2 separate regions of the Homo sapiens genome follow, and region 1 is linked to region 2. The links are contacts of gene promoters, found by promoter capture Hi-C in human tissues and cell types (Jung and others, 2019). All regions are on one chromosome and are shown on one strand. The core of a region is centred on a gene start or on the middle of the fragment in contact, and the rest is flanking DNA. Distances in the headings are between cores, read along the strand shown. Region 1 holds the start of GRB7 (growth factor receptor bound protein 7). Region 2 overlaps IKZF3 (IKAROS family zinc finger 3).

What was found. The method cuts DNA at HindIII sites, captures the fragments that hold promoters and counts their contacts. A contact is called where the count stands out against the background at its distance.
Region 1: a contact is called between the fragment with the promoter of GRB7 here and a fragment that was not itself captured in region 2, in 2 of the 25 tissues and cell types used here (lymphoblastoid cells and psoas muscle).

Annotation. Positions count from the first base shown.
Region 1 is chr17:39,734,942-39,739,324 of GRCh38, forward strand. It overlaps GRB7 (growth factor receptor bound protein 7), which reads left to right and starts at 2,997. Exons shown (of 15, transcript NM_005310.5): 1 at 2,997-3,192. The HindIII fragment of the contact is 6,261 bases long and covers 837-4,383 here.
Region 2 is chr17:39,777,924-39,782,636 of GRCh38, forward strand. All of the region lies in intron 6 of IKZF3 (IKAROS family zinc finger 3), which reads right to left. Among named protein-coding and RNA genes, the nearest start is that of GRB7, 42 kb to the left of the region's middle. RefSeq lists a silencer at 458-691. The HindIII fragment of the contact is 7,861 bases long and covers 1-4,713 here.

The DNA of each region.
Region 1 (4,383 bases), core at 1,747-4,246, 42 kb before region 2:
TCTACTTGGACTCTGGATTCTGTTCCATTGACCTATAAACGCATTCTTATTTATTATTATTATTATTTTCCCCCGAGACGGAGTCTTGCTCTGTCACCCTGGCTGGAGTGCAGTGGCACGATCTCAGCTCACTGCAACCCCCGCCTCCTGGGTTCAAGCAATTCTCCTGCCTCAGCCTCCTGTGTAGCTGGAATTATAGGTGCACACCACCATGCCCAGCTAATTTTTGCATTTTTAGCAGAGGCGGGGTTTCACCATGTTGGCCAGGCTGGTCTCGAACTCCTGACCTCATGATCCACCTGCCTCGGCCTCTCAAAGTGTTGGGATTACAGGTGTTAGCCACCGTACCTGGCCTTATAGTTGTTGTTGTTTTTAAATTCAGATACAACTTATACACAGTAAAATTCATCCTCTTGAGTGTACCTTTCTTTTTTTTTTCTTTTCTTGAGATGGAGTCTCGCTCTTGTCTCCCAGGCTGGAGTGCAATGGCTCGAACTCAGCACACTGAAACCTCCGTCTCGTGGGTTCAAGAGATTCTCCTGCTTCAGCCTCCTGAGTAGCTGAGATTACAGGCGTACGCCACCACGCCCGGCTAATTTTTGTATTTTTAGTAGAGACGGGGTTTTGCCATGTTGGTCAGGCTGGTCTTGAACTCCTGACCTCGTGATCCACCTGCCTCAGCCTCCCAAAGTCCTGGAATTACAGGGGTGAACCACGCACCCAGCCTTGAGTGTGCCTTTCTATGAGTCCTAAGAAACACACACATTTGTGCATCCAACCCCAAAACCAAGATACAGTATGGTCCCATCACCTCTCACAAGTCCCTGTGCCCCCTACTGTGGACCCCTCTCCCTCCTCCCCAACCCCAGACCTGGTTTTTGTTCACACAGTTCCACCCGCTCCAGAAAGCCATATAAGTTGATTCCTACAGCACTCCGCCCTCTGACTGTGGCTTTGTTTCCATCCCATCCTTCAATATCCAGGATGATCTTTCCAAAATGTAAATGTGCCCTCTCCTCTGTGCTTCTACTTAAGTCTAAATACAACTTGCAGGGTCTGGTCTTTGACCGCTACTCCTGCCCATCTGGACAAACAGGATGGATGGCTCTCAAACCTGGTTTGCAGAACAGCCACCTGAGGGCTTGTCAATACCACACCTTCCTGGGTCTTAGCCCTAGAGACTGAGATTCAGTTGCTGGAGAGGAGCCCAAGAATCTATTTTCCACACAAGGTTAGGGAGGTCTAGAGGCCACATTTGCAGAAGCACAGCTTCCTCTCTCCACACCTTCCACACCTGTCCAGGTTCACCCACGTGGCCTCTGCTTCCTCCCTTCTCCTCCAACCCCACTCTCTGTCTCCGCATGCTGCATCTCCTCCTGCCCAGAGCTCTGGCATTGATTTCCTCACTGGGGAAAGTGGCCTCCTTCCCCAATTCCCATCCACCGATTCCAACCCCCTTCCCATGTCAGCCAGCTTCTCCTCTGCTCAGCTGTCACCTCCACTGAGAAGTCTTTCCTGACTCCCTATGTGAGTCATTTTCCCAGCATAGTTGTCTCCTGTCATTTCTTATTTGTGTGATTCTTTGGTTAACATCAATCTTCCTGATTGGCTGTGTGAGGATGGGCGGGGTCTGTTTTTGTTGTTTACGCCTGTATCCCCAGCACAAAACATGGGGCTGGCATATGGTAGGTACTAAACAGATAGTTGAATAAATGAATGAGTGAATTGTCTACTCTGCCTTTGCACAAGCTGCTCCATCACCAAAGAGACCTTGCCTCCTCCCCCACTTCTTTGCTGGGCCCACTCATACCGGTTTTCCTAGGAAAACTCTGGAGAAAATTGAGGCAGGAGCCACTCATTCGTGCCCCTTCCAGGGTGGACCTCTTATCACCCTAAGGATTGTTTGTTTTCCTGTCACCCACATCAAGCTGGGTGGTGGCCGCAGCCTTTGATCTCCACCTCCTAACCCCTCTCCCAAGTACCCTGTGTTTGCCCAGCACTGAATGAGACAGCTAAAGTGATCCCTGAGAGAACTAAAGTGTTCCCTCAGGCCGGGCGTGGTGGCTTATGCCTGTAATCCTAACACTTTGGGAGGCCGAGGTGGGCAGATCACCTGAGGTCAGGAGTTCAAGACCAACTTGGTTAACATGGAGAAACCCCATCTTTACTAAAAATACAAAAATTAGCTGGGTGTGGTGGCAGGCGCCTGTAATCCCAGCTACTCCGGAGGCTGAGGTAGGAGAATTGCTTGAACCTGGGAGGCAGAGTTTGCAGTGCGCCAAGATGGCACCACTACACTCCAGCCTGGGTGACAGAGCGGGACTCTGGCTCAAAAAAAAATAAAATAAAGTGATCCCTCTAAGAGGAATCCCCAGGGGCCCAGGCCAGAGCTTTCTCCAGGTCACCATGGCTCCTCCCACTGTGCCACCCTGCCTAACCCCCTCGATTTTAAAGGAGAAGCCAAGACTCTGGACTTTGCTCAGAAGGTGGGGGGCGGGGGAGGGAGGGCTTACCCTGGGTACCTCTGAGGGGCCAGGGCGCAGCCACCACGGTAAGGGTGACTGCAGATCGAGGGGCAGGCCATGTTGCTGGACACCACCCTGGCTGGCGTCCCTCTCGGCAGGGTGCTCTTTGCCCCATGGGGTGGGATCCAGAGCTGCAGACAGGCCCCCAGGCTTGGCCAATGAACAGACCAGGTTCGGGGAGGGTGTTGGAAAAGAGTGGATGGGGTGGTTCCCCTTACCTTGCAGCCCCCAGGCCCTCCCCCCTCCCTCCCAGGTGGTCGGGACTCTTGATCTTCGCTCGTGGTACTGTCTGTTCGGCTGTCTTCCCCGCCTCTCCCCAGGCACCTGCATCCTCCCTTGGCACCTGCTGCCAGGCTAGGAAGGGCAAAAACAATCCCAGTTGGCGTAGTCAGGGAGTCTCCGCCCTCCTCCCAGGTTTCCTCCTCCCAGGCGCCTCCCCTGGACCCGCCCCCATCTGCCCAAGATAATTTTAGTTTCCTTGGGCCTGGAATCTGGACACACAGGGCTCCCCCCCGCCTCTGACTTCTCTGTCCGAAGTCGGGACACCCTCCTACCACCTGTAGAGAAGCGGGAGTGGATCTGAAATAAAATCCAGGAATCTGGGGGTTCCTAGACGGAGCCAGACTTCGGAACGGGTGTCCTGCTACTCCTGCTGGGGCTCCTCCAGGTAAGGGGACCGAGATCGGTCTCAGACGACAGCCTGCCAGGCAACCCCCAGCCGCACCAGGGCCCCAGGCTGTGCCAGTCTCCGGCTGAACTGGCCGGCGGCCCAGGTGGGAGGATTGGAGCCACCTGGCTCTCCCCCTCCCCCGCTCGGTGATGTCAGGCCAGGGGCGGGGGCTGGAGGGGGACAGGTAGTTAAGGGCCTGGCGTCTCCCTCCCTGAAGACGTGGTCCCAGCCGGGTGTCCTGACGCTCGGGGTTCAGGTAAGAACCCAAGCGGGCATTTATCCTTTGGGGGCAGGCACGGCCGGTCTGGAGGCCGGTAGGGAAAGGCTGGGTCTCCTGATGGGTTGCTTGGCCTCCCACTTTTCTCTTTTCTGTCCATTTCCCACCCTGCCCCCTCCTCCCCACCCGCCCTCTTTTCGTCCCCATCCTGGTTTCCAGCGCTCCTTGTTCCCTCCCTGTACACCTCCCTGCAGGCAGCAGCTGAGAATGGGAAGGAAGACCTGATTCTCTCCTCCGACTTGGCTTTCCCGCTGAAACTAGCCCCTCCCCGCACACCCGGGGAGAGCCGCCCTCACTCTCTGGCTCGCCCAGTTTACCCCAGTTTGGGTTTCCCCAAGTCTCTAAGACAGACGTCTCTGCGGGCTGCGGGGAGATGTGGGGAGGGCCCCCTCCACTTTGGAGGGCAGTGAAGGAGAGGGATCCTCTAAATTGTCGAGGCTTCATCTCTCCAGATTGTATGCCCTTCTCAGCAACACCGCCTCCGGCCCTCCGATGGGAAAGTGGAGGCCGGGTGAGACGGGGTCCCTCCTGGCTTCAGCATGAAATGGGCAGGAAGGCTGGAGGGGTGTATGAGGGGCTCTGCAGTGCGGTGGGGCCTGGGGAGAGTGGGGTGGGGGATAGCAGATGGTTTCTTCTGCTTGATGAGGCTAGGGAGAGACCCAGGTTCCCGGTCTGGGTCTCCCTGGCAGATTGAGGACAGAGAATGAATGCATCTGCCGGCAAGGTGGAACGCCCCCCACCCCGCCCCCCAACTAGCCGCACCGCCCCCCAGGAATGCCCTCTTTTGGTCCGCCGGTCTTGGACTCTGCTCTCCCCTCTCCTGATATCCTACTGTATGCTTGGTGGGGGGACCTCATGGAGGCGGGCAGCCTGTAATGATTAACTGCAGAGACACTCCAGCATTCTTCCCG
Region 2 (4,713 bases), core at 932-3,431:
GTGGTCAGTGAAGCCGACACCAGGGCACATTCAAATCTTGCAGTCTTATGCCGAGATGGGAAAGCTCGACCCATCCCCAACCAGTACCTTCATTAGCAAGAGGAAGTATTAAATAAACAGCCTGGACGTGGTTGGTTGCAAAAAGATAGATAGATGGAGATCTAACCCCCGATCAGCCTTCTTTCTGATTCTGAGTAACTGCGTGTGACACCTGCAGACTGATATAATTCTTAACAACTTTGAAAAAAAAGCATGGTGCCCCAGATTTACTGCTCTGTTTATGTTAACAGCACTTTTGAAAATAGGTACACTCACACAGATAGCAAGACATCTACTCAGTGATTTGTGTATTGAAATTCTGAGTGGTTTCTTTCTTTTTCTTTTTCTTTTTTTTTTTCAGCACGCTCCTCTCAGTTCCTATCTTTCATATTCTGTTTCTCTGTGCTCTGTATTATCTGTTTCATATGCTCTTCACATTTCAAAATAGTCTCAATTAAAATTTCCCTAAGCAACACTTCTGCCTTGAAATTAAAGAACAATTTGTATAATGCATCTGTATTGAATTTCTAATAAAAATGTGAATAAAAACTGCCTATGGGCTGGGTGCGGTGGCTCATGCCTGTAATCCCAGCACTTTGGGAGGTGGAGGTGGGCAGATCACCTGAGGTCGGAGTTCGAGACCAGCCTGACCAACTTGGAGAAACCCTGTCTCTACTAAAAATACAAAATTAGCCTGGTGTGATGGTGCATGCCTGTAATCCCAGCTACTCGGGAGGCTGAGGCAGGAGAATCACTTGAACCTGGGAGGCAGAGGTTGCAGTGAGCCGAGATGGCGCCATTGCACTCCTGCCTGGGCAACAAGGGCAAAATTCCGTCTCAAAAAACAAAGAAACAAACAAAACACAAAAAAACCTGCCTATGAATGTGGGCCCATCCACAAATAGACCTGTGAGTGGTGTAGGCCTGTGGTTCTCAGACCTGGCTGCACATTAGACTCACCTGAATAGCAGGTAAGAAATACCTATGCCCAGGCCCCCCTTCAGATCAATTAAATCAGGATTTCTGGTATAGGGGCCTAGGCAAGAATATTTTCAAAGCTCCCCAGATGATTTTAAAATGCAGCCAGAATTGAGAACTACTAGAAGAGTATATAAATAGTGGCAATATCTAATCAACTAAAATAGTAAACTGTAATGAATATAATTTACCTCAATTCAGCAGGCAGTGCCCAAATTTATGTCTAAAGTTCAAAGAAGGCCAGGCACGGTGGCTCACGTCTATAATCCCAGCACTTTGCAAGGCCGAGGCGGGCAGATCACCTGAGGTCGGGAGTTCAAGACCAGCCTGACCAACATGGAGAAACCCCATCTCTACTAAAAATATAAATAATTAGCTGGGTGTGGTGGCGAATGCCTGTAATCTTAGCTCTCGGGAGGCTGAGGCCGGAGAATCGCTTGAACCCAGGAGGCAGAGGTTGTGGTGAGCCGAGATTGAGCCATTGCACTCCAGCCTGGGCAATAAGAGCAAAACTCCATCTCCAAAAAATAAATAAATTAATTAAATAAATTTCAAAGAGATACCAGCTTCTCTAAATACAAGGCTTGACATTTTAACACATGATGCTAGCCTGAACCAGGGATCAGCAAACTTTTGTCTGTAAAGGGCCAGACAGTAAATTTTAAAAATTTGCCAGACACATATAGTCTCTATGTTATATTCTTTGTTTTTTGTTTTTTTTTTTTCTGTTCCACGGCCTTTTAAAAACGTAAAAATCCCTGTACACAAACAGGCCACTGGCTGCACTTGCCTAGAGCGCCACAGTTTGCCCTCACCTGCCCTGGGCAAACATATTGTGATGCTGTAAACATTTTTCTCTGTTTTCTCATAAACACTTCGGGAGATCCAAACTAAAATGAACTATCCATACATTTCTATTATGTCTAAGGAAGAATAAATTGAAATTAGTTTAAGGGATTAGAGTAAAAAGCAAGTAGTGGCTGGCACAGTGGCTCACCCCTGTAATCCCAGTGCTTTGGGAGACTGAGGCAGGAAGATTGCTTGAGGCCAGGAGTTGAGACCAACCTGGGCAATATAGCAAGATCCTGTTCCTACAAAAAGTAATTTTAAAAAATTAGCTGGGCATGTTGGCATGCGCCTGTAGTCCTAGCTACTTGGGAGACTGAGGTGGGAGGGTTCCTTGAGCCCAGGGGTTTGAGGTTACGGTGAACTATTAAGGTAACTGCAAAGACCACAATTACTTTTGCACCAACCTATTAGTGCCAGTGCACTCCAGCCTGCGTGACAGAGTGAGACTCTGTCTAAAAAAAAAAAAAAAAGCCCCAAAGTATTAAATATTTCTAATTTTATTAGTGGCCTTAAAAAACTGTATGTTAGTCATTACACAATACATTATAAAGCTCAGTTTTCATTATTTAGTTAATTTATTTACTTATTTTTGAAACAGGGTCTCAACTCTGTTACCCAGGGTGGAGTGCAGTGGCATGATCACAGCTCACTGCAGGCTCAACCTCCTGGGCTCAAGTAATCCTTCTACCTCAGGTTCCAAAGTTGCTGGGACTACAGTCTAAAGCCACCATGCCTGGCTAATTAAAAAAAAAAATTATTAGTCTCAATATATTGCTCAGTCTGGTCTCCAACTCTTGGCCTCAGGCAGTCCTCCCACTTCAGCCTCCCAAAGTGTTGGGATTACAGGCATGAGCCACTGCACTCAGCCAAAGCTCAGCTTTTTTTTTTTTCCTGGAATAACATAAAATCTGGCTCTGCCAGGTGTGGTGGCACTAGCCCATAGTCCCAGCTACTCAGGAGGCTGAGGTGAGAGGATGGCTTGAGCCTAGGAGTTCAAGTTCAGCTTGGGCAACACAGTGAGATCCCATCTCTTAAAAAGAAAAAGAAATCCAGCTCCAAAAATGAAAAAGAAGAGGATGATAATAATGTGATAATAATGACAATATTTACTAGACAGTGAGTTTCTTGTCAAAAATAATTCTAGGCTCTAAAGGAATAAATCATAGCCTTCAGTGAAGCTATTAACAACTATTTGTGTAAATGAAAACAGTAAGGGTCAGAATAGGGGGCCTGAGTGGCTTTTGGGCTAGTGCAAAAGTACTCGACTGACTCTGGCTGACCAGCAGTTGTAAATAACGGGCACTTCAGCCACAAGACACTGCTATTGAGTGAAGAGGGTCAAATTCTGTCCAGCACAGGGATAGGTTTAAATGACCAAACAGGAAATTATTTATATATATTATTTCCTTTCACACAAAACCACCACCAGATGTGGCACTACCCAAAGCCCCAAGAGCAGAGAGATGAAAGACAAAGCTTGGAATTTGCAGTAAGTTCCTGGGGCTGTTAGGAGACTTTTTTCTTAGAATCAGGGGAGAGGTAGCTAAGTTTGCACTTTGACTAGGAACATTCATCCTGGTTCCAGCAATTTTGAGAAGATTAAATCCAAGTAAGCCTCCCCTCAACCCTGTAGTTATCAACAAAAAGATTTATAGGGAAAAAAAGAATGAAAAACAGTATTCTGGGAATGTTTACCTTTTATGCCCATTTTACCATTGTTCTTATTAGTCTATTGTGGTCCCTCCTCTCACTGCCAAATCATTACCCAGGAATTACCCCAAGCACGGTGCTACCCATCTAGTTTTCCCATTTGTTTCTCAGCAGTCGCTGTCTACATTTTACTGAAGTCAATGTCAATTAAAACAAGCAGCTTTCTGAGGACACGTAATCAACATCCTCTACATTTGGGAGGATGCTGAAGTGTGGACACATTGACCTAAATAACTGTAATTAGGGCAGGTCACTAAATGGCAAACTTTTGAGATAACATCACCTTTTATTCCTCGTTACCCACCAAACTGGTCTTTAGAGTCATTTCCAGATAAACATTATTCTGTAAATCAGTGACCAAATGCCTGACATTTAAAAACATAAAATTCTGCAGTGTTCATGGATGGACATATTTTGAGGCATGGGTGGAGACTTTCCCATTTCCACAACTCCGATTAGATTGAAAGAAATCCTCTGAAACGAATCTAGAGGACTCCTGTTCACCCACACCCTCTTTCTGGGTCATTCACTCAAAATATTAACTACAAGAGCTCCACTCTCATTGTACATGTGAACACACTCCTACTGATTCAGTTGATCTTCACTGAATTAACCTTGTTTTCTAGTTGATAAGTTAGGCAAAGGCTAGTTTTCAATTGAAGATGGCACTCATTTTCTTTCCTAAACTGCTAGTCTTTTGCCTCACACTTGTTGGATAGCTGATGCACAATACCATGAAATGAGTGCCCTTTGAAACACAAAGAGCCAGGTTCCATGGTTTGCGCCTGTAATCCAGCACTTTGGGAGGCTGAGGTGGGAGGATTGCTTGAGCCCAGGGAGCTATGATCTTGCCACTGTACTCCAGTGTGAGGAACACAGTGAGCCCTGTCTCTAAACAACAACAACAACAACAACACACACACACACACACATATCACACATACACAAAGAAATGCTTTGTAACTGGACAAGCTCTTTGGGATTACTGAGTGGTTTAGGCAGTGCACTGAAAAGAAAAAAAAGAGGACTATTGGCTTTTGGTCCTTTTCTCCAACTTTAGGACCCAACTGTCTATTTATACGAACAGTCTAGACTTGTTATCTTGCCACTTCATATCTCAGAAATGTAAGTGGAGGG